Linked DNA regions of Homo sapiens: region 1 is linked to region 2. The links are contacts of gene promoters, found by promoter capture Hi-C in blood cells and fetal thymus (Javierre and others, 2016). All regions are on one chromosome and are shown on one strand. The core of a region is centred on a gene start or on the middle of the fragment in contact, and the rest is flanking DNA. Distances in the headings are between cores, read along the strand shown.

Region 1 (5,800 bases), core at 2,467-4,966, 2.8 Mb after region 2:
AAAACAACTGGAACTGGCTGGGCACAGTGGCTCACACCTGTAATCCCAGCACTTTGGGAGGCCGAGGTGGGCGGACCACCTGAGGTCAGGAGTTCGAGACCAACCTAGCCAACATGGGGAAACCCTGTCTCTACTAAAAATACAAAAATTAGCCAGGTGTGGTGGTGGGCACCTGTAATCCCAGCTACTTGGGAGGCTGAGACAGGAGAATCACTTGAACCCGGGAGGTGGAGGTTGCAGTGAGCCGAGACTGCACCATTGCACTCCAGCCTGTGCAAGAAGAGCAAAACTCCATCTCAAAAATAAATAAATAAATAAGTTCAGCAGGTTTACAGGATACAAGAGAAAGATACAAAATTATTTGTGTATTTATGTATTAACAATGAACACATGAAAACTGAAATTAAAAATATAATGCCTTTTATAATTGCTCAAAAGATGAAACAATTATGTGTAAATCTAACTAAATATGTATATGAATTACAGGCCAAAAACTATTAAATCAAAGATCTAAATATACAGAGAAACATAACATGTTCATGAGTAGAAGACTCAGTAAAGATGCCGATTCCCCCCAAATTGAGATGCAAATGTAACAGAATTCCTGTCAAAATTTCAGCAAAATTTTCTACAGATACAGACAAAATTATTCTGAAATTTATATGGAAAGGCCAGGCGCTAGAATAACCAAAACAATTTTCAAAAGACATTGATAAACGTAGAGGAATCACTCTACCTCATATCAGGACTTATTAGATGTAACTACAGTAAGGCCAGGCATAGGGACTCACACCTGTAACCCCAGCACTTTGGAGGCTGAGGAGGCTGGATTGCTTGAGGCCAGGAGTTCAAGACAGGCTTGGCAACATGGTGAAATCCCGTCTCTAAAATCTTGTATCTAAAAATAAAAGAAGAAAAATTAGCCATGTGCAGTGGCGTGCACCTGTAGTCCCAGCTACTTGGGAGGCTGAGGCAAGAGGATCACTTGAGCCTGGGAGGCAGAGGTTGCAGTGAGCCGAGATTGCACCATTGCACTCCAGCCTGAGTGACATAAATAAAACCCTGTCTCAAAATATATATATGAATAAATAAATAAATAAATATTAATAGAGGTAGCTACAGTAATAAAGACTATGTGATAATGGCAGAGGGAGAGACACAGAGATCAATGGAAATGAATAAAAAACCTAGAAATAGTGCCACATGAGTGCAACCAACTGATTTTTTAACACCCCTCTGCTTTTGCATCAACCAACTGATGTTTTACAAGATGCAAAAGCAACTCAATATAAGAAGTGTAATATTTTCTCCAAATGGTGCTGAAGCAAAAAAAAATTTTTAAGTACTCTGACCTACATCTCACACCTTATATAAAAACTAACTGAAAATGGATCATAGACTTCAACATAAAATGTAAAACTATAAATATTTTAGAAGATAACAAAAGGGGAAATCTTTGGAGCACATGAAGAACTCTTAAACATGACACCAGAAGTGTAATTCATAAAAGAATAAATTGATAAATTGGACTTCAAAATGAAAAACTTTTACTCTGTAAAAGACTTCATTAAAAGGATAAAAAGATAAGCTATAAACTGGAAGAAATTATTTGCAAATCACATATCTAACAAAAGGCCACTTTGGAATAAAGAACTCTCAAAACTGAACATTAAACAAATAATAATAATTCAATTAGAAAATGGGCAGCCGGGTGCAGTGGCTCACGCCTGTAATCCCAGCACTTTGGGAGGCTGAGACAGGCAGATCACAAGGTCAAGAGATTGAGACCATCCTGGCCAACATGGTGAAACCCCGTATCTACTAAAAACACAAAAATTAGCCGGGCGTGGTGGTGCGTGCCTATAGTCCCAGGTACTCAGGAGGCTGAGGCAGGAGAATCGCTTGAGCCCGGGAGGTGGAGGGTGCAGTGAGCCGAGATTGCACTGCTGCACTCCAGCCTGGTGATAGACCGAGACTCCTTCTCAAAAGAAAAAAAAAAAAAGAAAATGGGCAAAAGGCGCATTTCACCAAAGAGGATATACAAATGGCAAACAAGCACAGGAAAAATGTTCAACATAATTTGCCATTAGGAAAATGCAAATCAAGACCACAATGAGCTATCAATACTCATCTATTAGAACATTTGAAATAAAAAACAGTGACAGTATCAAATGCCAGCAAGGATGTGGAGAAACTAGATTTTTTGTATATTTCTGGAGTGTAAAAATGGTATAGCCACCATGGAAAAATAGATTGCCACTTTCTTTAAAAAAAAAAAAAAAATACACTTACTATATGACCCAGCAATTGTACCCACCCCTGGGCATTTACCCCAAAGAAATGAAAACCTATGCCCACACAAAAACTGATCTGTGATTGTTCGTAGCAACTTTATTTGTAGTAGCCATCTTTACATCTATGAGCATATTTATCTCCCACTTGTAAGTGAGAATATGTAGTCTTTGGTCTTCTGTTCTTGCATTAATTTGCTTAGGATAATGGCCTCCAGCTGTACCCATGTTGCTGCAAAGGATGTGATTTTGTTTGTTTGTATGGCTGCACAGTATTCCATGGTGTATACATCTTCTTCATTCAGTCCACCACTGATGGGCACCTACACTGATTCCATGACTTTGCTGTTGTGAATAGTGCTGTGATGAACCCATGCGTGCATGTGTCTTTTTGATAGAACAATTTATTTTCCTTTGGGTATATACCCAGTAATGAGATTGCTGGGTCGAATGGTAGTTCTGTTTTAAGTTCTTTGAGAAATCTCCAAACTGCTTTCCATGGTGGCTAAACTAACTTACATTTCCACCAAAAGTGTACAAGCATTCCCTTTTCTCCACAGCCTCACCAACATCTATTATCTTTTCACTTTTAACAAAAGCCATTCTGACGGGTGTGAGCTATTAATTGGTCTCACTGTGGTCTTGATTTGTATTTCTCTGATGATTGGCAATGTTGAGCATTTTTTTACGTCTGTTGGCTGCTTGTATGTCTGTTTTGTTTTGTTTTAGATAGAGTTTCACTCTTGTTGCCCAGGCTGGAGTGCAATGGTGTGATCTTGGCTCACTGCAACCTCCGACTCCCAGATTCAAGCGATTCTCCTGCCTCAGCCTCCTGAGTAGCTAGGATTACAGGCGCCTGCCACCATACCTGGCTAATTTTTTGTATTTTTAGTGGAGACGGGGTTTCACAACGTTGGCCAGGCTGGTCTCAAACTCCTGACTTCAGGTGATCTACCCACCTCTTTTGAGAAGTGTCTGTTCATGTCTTTTGCCCACTTTTTAATAGGGTCATTTGTTTTTTTGCTGGTTGAATTGTTTAAGTTTCATATTACACTTCTTTTGGATGCATAGTTTGTTAATATTTTCTGCTGTTCTCCAGGTTGTCTGTTTACTCTGTTGATAGTTTCTTTTCCTGTGCAGAAGCTCTTTCATTTAATTAGGTCCCATTTGTCAATTTTTGTTTTTGTTGCAAATTTTTTGAGGACTTAGTCATAAATTATTTCCCAAGACCAACATCGAAAATGGTGTTTCCTAGATTTTCTTCTAGAATTTTTAGTTTTAGGTCTTACATGTAAGTCTTTAACCCATCTTGAGTTAATTTTTGTATGTGGTGATAGAGGTCCAGTTTTATTCTTCTGCATATGGCTAGCCAGTTATCCCAACACCATTTATTGAATAAAGGGTCCTTTCTCGATTGCTTATTTTTGTCAACGATCAGTTGGTTGTAAACGTGTGGCTTTATTTCTGGGTTCTATATTCTGTTCCATTGGTCCATGTTTCTATTTTCATACCACTTCCATGCTGTTTTTGTTACCGTAGCCTTAGAGTATAGTTTTAGGTCAGGTACTATGATGCCTCCAGCTTTGTTCTGTTTTGCTGAGGATTGCTTTGGCTATTGGGGCTTTTTTTTTTTTTTTTTTGGTTCCATATGAGCTGTAGAATAGTTTCTTCTAGTTCTGTGAAGAATGGCTTTGATAGTTTGATAGAAATAACATTGAATCCATAGACTGTTTTGGGCAGTATGGCCATTTTAACAATATTGATTCTTCTAGTCCATAAGCATGGAATATTTTTCCATTTGTGTGTCATTTATGGTTTCTTTCAGCAGTATTTTGTAGTTCACCTTCTAGAGATCTTTCTCCTCCTTGGTTAGAGGTATTCCCAGATAGATATTTTGTTTTTGGTGTGGCTACTGTAAATGGGGTTGCATTCTTGATTTGGATCTCAGCTTGATCATTATTGATGTGTAGAAATGCTACTGATGTTTGCACATTGATTTTTGTATCCTGAAACTTTACTGAGGTCATTTATCCATTCTAGGAGCCTTTTGGTAGAGACTTTAGGATTTTCTAGATATAGAATTATATCATCAGGGAAGAGACATAATTTGACATATTCTTTCCCTGTTTGGATGACTTTTTTTTTTCTCTTGCCTGATTGCTCTGGTTAGGATTTCCAGTACTATTGTTATTGGAAAGTGGTCCCAATCCATATCCCAAGAGAAGGTTTTTGGATCTTGCGCAAGAAGGAACTCAGGGCAAGTGCATAAAGTGAAAGCAAGTTTAATAGGAAAGTGAAAGAATAAAAGAATGGCTACTCCATAGACAGAGCAGCCCTGGAGGCTGCTGGTTGTCCATTTTTATGGTTATTTCTTGATGATATGCTAAACGAGGGGTGGATTATTCATGCCTCCCCTTTTTAGACCATATAGGGTAACTTTCTCACATTGCCATAGAGTTTGTAAAATGTCATGGCGCTGTTGGGAGTGTAGCAGTGAGGACAACCAGAGGTCACCCTCGTGGGCATCTTGGTTTCGGTGGATTTTAGCTGACTTCTTTGCTGCAAATTGTGTTATCAGCAAGGTCTTTATGATCTGTACTTTGTGCCAACCTCCTACCTCATCCTGTGACTTAAATGCGTTAACTGTCTGGGAATGCAGCCCAGTTGGACTCAGCCTCATTCTACACAGCTCCTATTTAAGATGGAGTTACTCTGGTTCAAATACCTCTGACACTATGTTGAATCGGAGTGGTGAGAGTGTTGGCCCATAAATTTGTACAAATAAATGTTCACACTGCTCTGTGAAAAATAATAATAATAATAATTTGCACCCACCAAAAAAGTGCTGCTGCCTAAGCCTTAACAGCAAATCAACTCTTAATAAGCTAGAATCTCTGCGCATGGAACTCATGCATCAGATCCTCTAAGAAACGCTTACATGTGGAGATCGGGGGGAAAAGGAGGATCAAGCAAAAGAAGATTGGAAAGAAGTGGACCATGATAGAGGAAGGAAACCAGGATATGTGGCTCCTGGAAGCTGAGAGGGGGCTGTTTCAAAAGGGAGATAAGATACTCCTGCACTAGGATTTTGTGAGGACTGAAAGAATGCATGCCTATGGAAGCACTTTGTAAGCTGTTAATTGATGAACAAATACTACATGAAGTATTACTATCATCTTAAGGAAAAAAAATCATTCCCCCCTAGTCCAACATCTCTGTGCTTAGAGAAAGAACTTAGAAAAGCGCTGGGAGGGGTGTCCATCCCCAGCACTTATACTTATGAGAATTAACCAAAAATCTTTACAGTTATGAGGCTTAAACAAATTAATGTCCATTATGCTTAACTCAGTGCCTAGTACATCATCATCATCACCATGTAATAATAATAATGATGATAGCTAACACTTACATAGTGCTTCCTATGTGTTAGGCAATGTTCTAAGTGCTTTATATCTATTCAGGTAGCATTCAAGAATGATGAGCTATTGTTGTTTCTTTTGTTATTATTA
Region 2 (5,029 bases), core at 1,951-4,450:
TGAAAGGCGTGAGCCACCGCACCTGGCCTGGAGCTGCCTTTAAAGCTGACCCAGAACCTCCACCATGCCTGTCCCCACACTGGTCTGAGTCCCTGGCCTCATGCACTGGAATCCACACACCAGCCTGTCTGGTCTCTCTGCTTCCACCCTTCTTCCCATAGCAGCACGTGCGGTCCTGTTAGACACGAAACCAGACATGGGTCCCCTCTGCCCAGACCCTCCGCCGGCATGAATATCTTGCTCAGAGTGAATACCTGAGTCCTTGTGTGGTCTCTGCATTCCTGTGTGATCTGTCCCCTCCTCTAGCACCTCCCGCCCCCTTTTTTTCCTCCTCTGCCCTTTGCTCACTCAGCTGCAGCCACACTGTGCTCTCAGTTTTTCCCCAAAGGGCCAGACAGGCTCCTGCCTCGAGGCTTTTGCACTGGCCATCCCTCTGCCTGGAACTTCCATTCCCCCGGATGTCTTCATGGCTTGCCCCTACATCTCCTTCAAATCCTTGCTCCAATGTCCCCTTCTCAGTGAGGCCCTCCTTGAAGCCATCCCCACTTTGATCCCTCCCTGCTGAATTGCTCTCCCTGGCTTTCACCCCTGCATACTCTGCAGTGTTCTTTCTTTTTTTCTTTTTGAGACAAAGTCTCGCTCTCTCGCTCAGGCTGGAGTGCAGTGGCACGATCTCAGCTCACTGCAACCTCTGCCCCCGGGGTTCAAGGGATTCTCCTGCCTCAGCCTCCTGAGTAGCTGGAATTACAGTTGTGCGCCACCACACCAGGCTAATTTTTGTATTTTTAGTAGAGACAGGGTTTCGCCATGTTGGCCAGGCTGGTCTTGAACTCTTGACCTCAGGTGATCTGCCCGCCTCGGCCTCTCAAAGTTCTGAGTGATGTTCTTTCTTACGAACTTTGTTCACGTTCTCTTTTCTTCCCAGTGCTGAGCATTCAGTGGGTGGCTCAGTGAGTGGAGGAGCATCTTAGATGGAAATTCCAAATCCCTCTGTGCATCCTCAGGTGTTTCTTGAGAGAGTGTGGTCCCTGAGACATATCTCACCTGGGCTCTCCTGGCTTTGAACATGCAGGACAGGGTTCCCAGCTGTAGGTCACCGAGCCCTGCTCACATGCACACCAACCACAGCCTCGAGTCCAAAGAAGTACCCTGTTTAGCACACATCGAGGGGCTGGTTTTCATTGGTACACAGACACTCATGATGAATACTGCATGCCAGTTTAAAAGTGCTACTGGAGGCTGGGTGCGGTGGCTCATGCCTGTAATCCCAGCACTTTGGGAGGCCGAGGCGGGCAGATCACTTGAGGTCAGGAGTTCGAGACAAGCCTGACCAACACGGTGAAACCCCGTCTCTGCTAAAAATATGAAAAATAGCCAGGCGTGGTGGCAAGCGCCTGTAATACCAGCTACTCGGGAGGCTGAAGTATGAGAATCGCTTGAACCCAGAAGGCGGAGGTTGCAGTGAGCTGAGATTGCACCACTGCACTCCAGCCTGGGCGACAGAGTGAGACTCCATCTCAAAAAAAAAAAAAAAAAAAAGATGCTACTGGATTCTTTACAGCTGTTTGGCGATGATGTATTTTCTCTGTCAACCAATACTCTCAATGCCACCATTATCACATGGAGGTCCTCTCTTTCAAAATAGTTGAGAATCTCTTGCACAGTGCCAGAAAAGGGCTCTAAAAGCAAGTTTGGAGACCCTTGGCCATCCTTCGTGCCTGCTCTTACCAGGGACGTTGCCCACAACGTTTTCCTCTCACCTACCCCCCGGCAGATTAGCAGCAGCTGACAGTGGGTGCCGGCTCACCCACAGGAGTAAGGCAATTCATAATCGGTTAACCTTGAATTCTGCAAGGCCTGCCACTCGGCAAGCCGGGGGTTGTCGGAGCAGTTCTCAGCTTGGGCAGAATTCAAATGAGCTCTTATAATCAACATGCAATTAATTGTTGCACGCCCTGAGCATCTGGGCAGTAAGTGCTGTGCAGCGCGAAGGGAGTTCAGGGAGCGTGGTCATCTTAGAGCAGAGGTGGGGACGGGGTTGCACACAGTTTCCACGTTGCACAGGAGAGCCTGAAGAGGTTTGTCTGAGTTTGGTCAACTGATCTTGGTTCAGATGTCAGTAACAGTGAATTATTAATTGAGTCTACTGTGTGCCAAATGCTTTTTGCAGCCATGATCTCATTACAGCAGCCCACTGTGATATACCTTGAAGGGGGGGGGGTCCTCCCTTTTTTATAGTTATGGAAATTGAGGCTCAGAGAGGGTAAGTGACCTGTTCAAAGCCACACAGCTGGTCAAGCCCTAGATATGCTTGATCCCAAAGTCAGTATGTTTGGCCACCCTGCCCCCACCCGAATCTTGAAGATTCTACCCACATTCACATGGTGTGCATGTGAGCAGGGTTGGCAGCCCCTGTAGGGCACCACTGCCTGGTAGCTGCAATAACTTTGTGGCCGGCATGGGCCCTCCTAGGGTTCTGCTGTTTGGGATCTCAGGTGGGTGCAGTGGGCTGTCTGGGGTACCCTGTTGCCACTCTTCCTGCAGTTGCATGCCATGGTTGGGAGCCCAGATGACAGTTTCATCCTTGGAGGGGAGCTCTTCCCAGATGCTGGAGGTGACACCCAGGAGACAGAAAAACGTTTCAAACCCTATAACCCAATACTCCAGGAGGGGCGCCTCCTGACAGATTCTGCCACTCCAAGTCCAGCATGGGTTGTCTTATCCAGGGGGTCTTGCAGCTCCCTGGCTGTGGGAAGCCCTGCAGGCTCTGCTGTTTAGAACCTTTGGAAAAACTCCTTTCTCAGGGTCTGGTGCGGGGGTCCTTTTGGGGATCCCCTTCTGGGACAGGGTCCTGCTGGTCCGTGTCCCTCTTGGGGAGCCCCAGCAGGCTCTGCCCTTGTCTCCTGGGGCAGGGCCTCTCTGGGTCTCATGAGATGCCCGCTCCCGGCGGGTTTTGTTGCCCCACGTCCGCCGTGGGGATCTTTTCTCAGGAGCGCCTTGCCTGGGATTCTCCTTGCGTCTCAGACCCTCACCCTGGCTCGGATTTCTTTCGGGGGCGTCCCTCCACTCCCAGGCCCCCGCCCGCGCCCGGCGTGGCGGCCCCCTCTCCCCGTGCGGGCGGGCTCCGGAACAGTGTCGCCGGCCGCCTGCAGGTGTCTCCCCACGGAGGGGCGCGCGTCCCTGCGCCGTGGCCGCTGCCAGGCGCCAGCGGCTCCTAGCCGAGGTGCACTCGCGCTCCGGGCTCCGGGCGCGCCGTAGCCGCTCCTCCACCGCCGCCCGCCCCGCCAGCCCGCCCCGCACGCCCCCCGCGCCGCGCCCCCACCCCGGGGTTGGGGGGGGCATGGGCCCGCGCCGCGTCCGCCGCCGCCGATCTCAGGCACCCGAGCCCCGGGGCGCGGCGGGCAGCGGCCGCTGACGCGGGGCGCCAGCTGCCAACTTCGCGCGCGGAGCTCCCCGGCGGTGCAGTCCCGTCCCGGCGGCGCGGGCGGCATGAAGACTAGCCGCCGCGGCCGAGCGCTCCTGGCCGTGGCCCTGAACCTGCTGGCGCTGCTGTTCGCCACCACCGCTTTCCTCACCACGCACTGGTGCCAGGGCACGCAGCGGGTCCCCAAGCCGGGCTGCGGCCAGGGCGGGCGCGCCAACTGCCCCAACTCGGGCGCCAACGCCACGGCCAACGGCACCGCCGCCCCCGCCGCCGCCGCCGCCGCCGCCACCGCCTCGGGGAACGGCCCCCCTGGCGGCGCGCTCTACAGCTGGGAGACCGGCGACGACCGCTTCCTCTTCAGGAATTTCCACACCGGCATCTGGTACTCGTGCGAGGAGGAGCTCAGCGGGCTTGGTGAGTGCGCGCGGGCGGCGGCCAGCTCGGCTCCGGCTCCCCCGGGGCGGCGCGGCCATCGAGGCCCGAGCCCCGGACCCGTTCGCCCTCCTCCCGCCGCCTGGGCCCAGCTCCCAGCGCTCCGCCTGGCTAGGGGCGACGTTCCGGGGCAGGGGGCGCGCGCCGTTCCGGGGCCGGGGACCAGCATGGGGGGACGTGCGGGACGCCCCGCCGTGGAGAGGTGCAAGGCAGAGCTCCTACCCGCTGCGGACGCCCCGCGGCTTTGGGGACGCTCCCGCGCCCCGGGAAGGCGCCCACCCCCGCTGCCGGTCGGAGGGGCGCGCGCTGCTTTCCGCTCCTGAACTCATCTCCACGCTCGCCCCCTCCTCCTCTTCCTTTCGCGGGGCACTAGATGCCCCCACCCACCCCGGAACGCCCCTGGGGGTGGGGGTGATGCAGGGACTCCTGCTACCAGCCGCCCCTCCTGCCGCAGATCCACAGACCCGGGAGCCTTCCACCCCCATCGCCAACCCACGCCGAACCTCCCAGACGGGAGTGGGGAGTGGGGGAGTCCCGCGGGCTCCCGGAAAGCCGCACCCGCCCAGAGGCACCCCTATTGCCAGACGCCAGGGAGCCCTCTGTATCCTGGCCCCCTCCTGGGAGAGGCAGGCTAGGGAACTGGGGACAGCTGGGCAAACTCCGGGTCGAGGAGTCCAGGAGGGCTTAGCTTAGCACAAGGCTCCTATTAGGTTCGGTGGGGGACTGACTTTTCAGAAGGCAGATCAGACTGTCCCCTTTGCCTGGACCCCCTCCTCTACCCTCCAGAGGCAGCCTGGGCTGGAGTGCGTGTTTTGGAGGCAGACAGCCGGGCTGTGGCAGGGCCCAGGGGACAGCTGCCGGACAGCTGGTTGTGCCACACAGCAGGTAGAGCTGGCCCGAAAGACGTGGTATCTCTGAGCGGGTGTCCAGGCATGGACACCCTCCTGAGTGAATTGACCTCTTTCTCCAAGGTTAAAACTCCTCCCTGCATGCCTAGCTCCTCAGTGTGGACACCACACATATGTGTGTGCTCAAGGGTGGGTTACAGCAGACCTCCACCCTTAGTTTGCCCTAAATAAGCCAGTGGCCTAAGTGGTTTAGAGGGCAGAGGGAGGAAGCTGTGAAGCGAACCCAGTGAAAAGCTCCAGGCCTCTGCACAGGCTGCATCCTCTG

What was found. Contacts are between HindIII fragments. The CHiCAGO score rates a contact against its expected background, and 5 or more counts as called.
Region 1: a contact is called between a fragment that was not itself captured here and the fragment with the promoter of GSG1L in region 2, in 1 of 17 cell types (naive CD4 T cells). The highest score is 5.2, in naive CD4 T cells.

The regions. Positions count from the first base shown.
Region 1 is chr16:25,282,218-25,288,017 of GRCh38, reverse strand. No RefSeq gene overlaps it. Among named protein-coding and RNA genes, the nearest start is that of ZKSCAN2, 27 kb to the right of the region's middle. The HindIII fragment of the contact is 9,281 bases long and covers 1-5,800 here.
Region 2 is chr16:28,061,885-28,066,913 of GRCh38, reverse strand. GSG1L (GSG1 like) reads left to right here and starts at 3,200. Exons shown (of 7, transcript NM_001109763.2): 1 at 3,200-3,838. The coding sequence starts at 3,490. The HindIII fragment of the contact is 8,058 bases long and covers 1-5,029 here.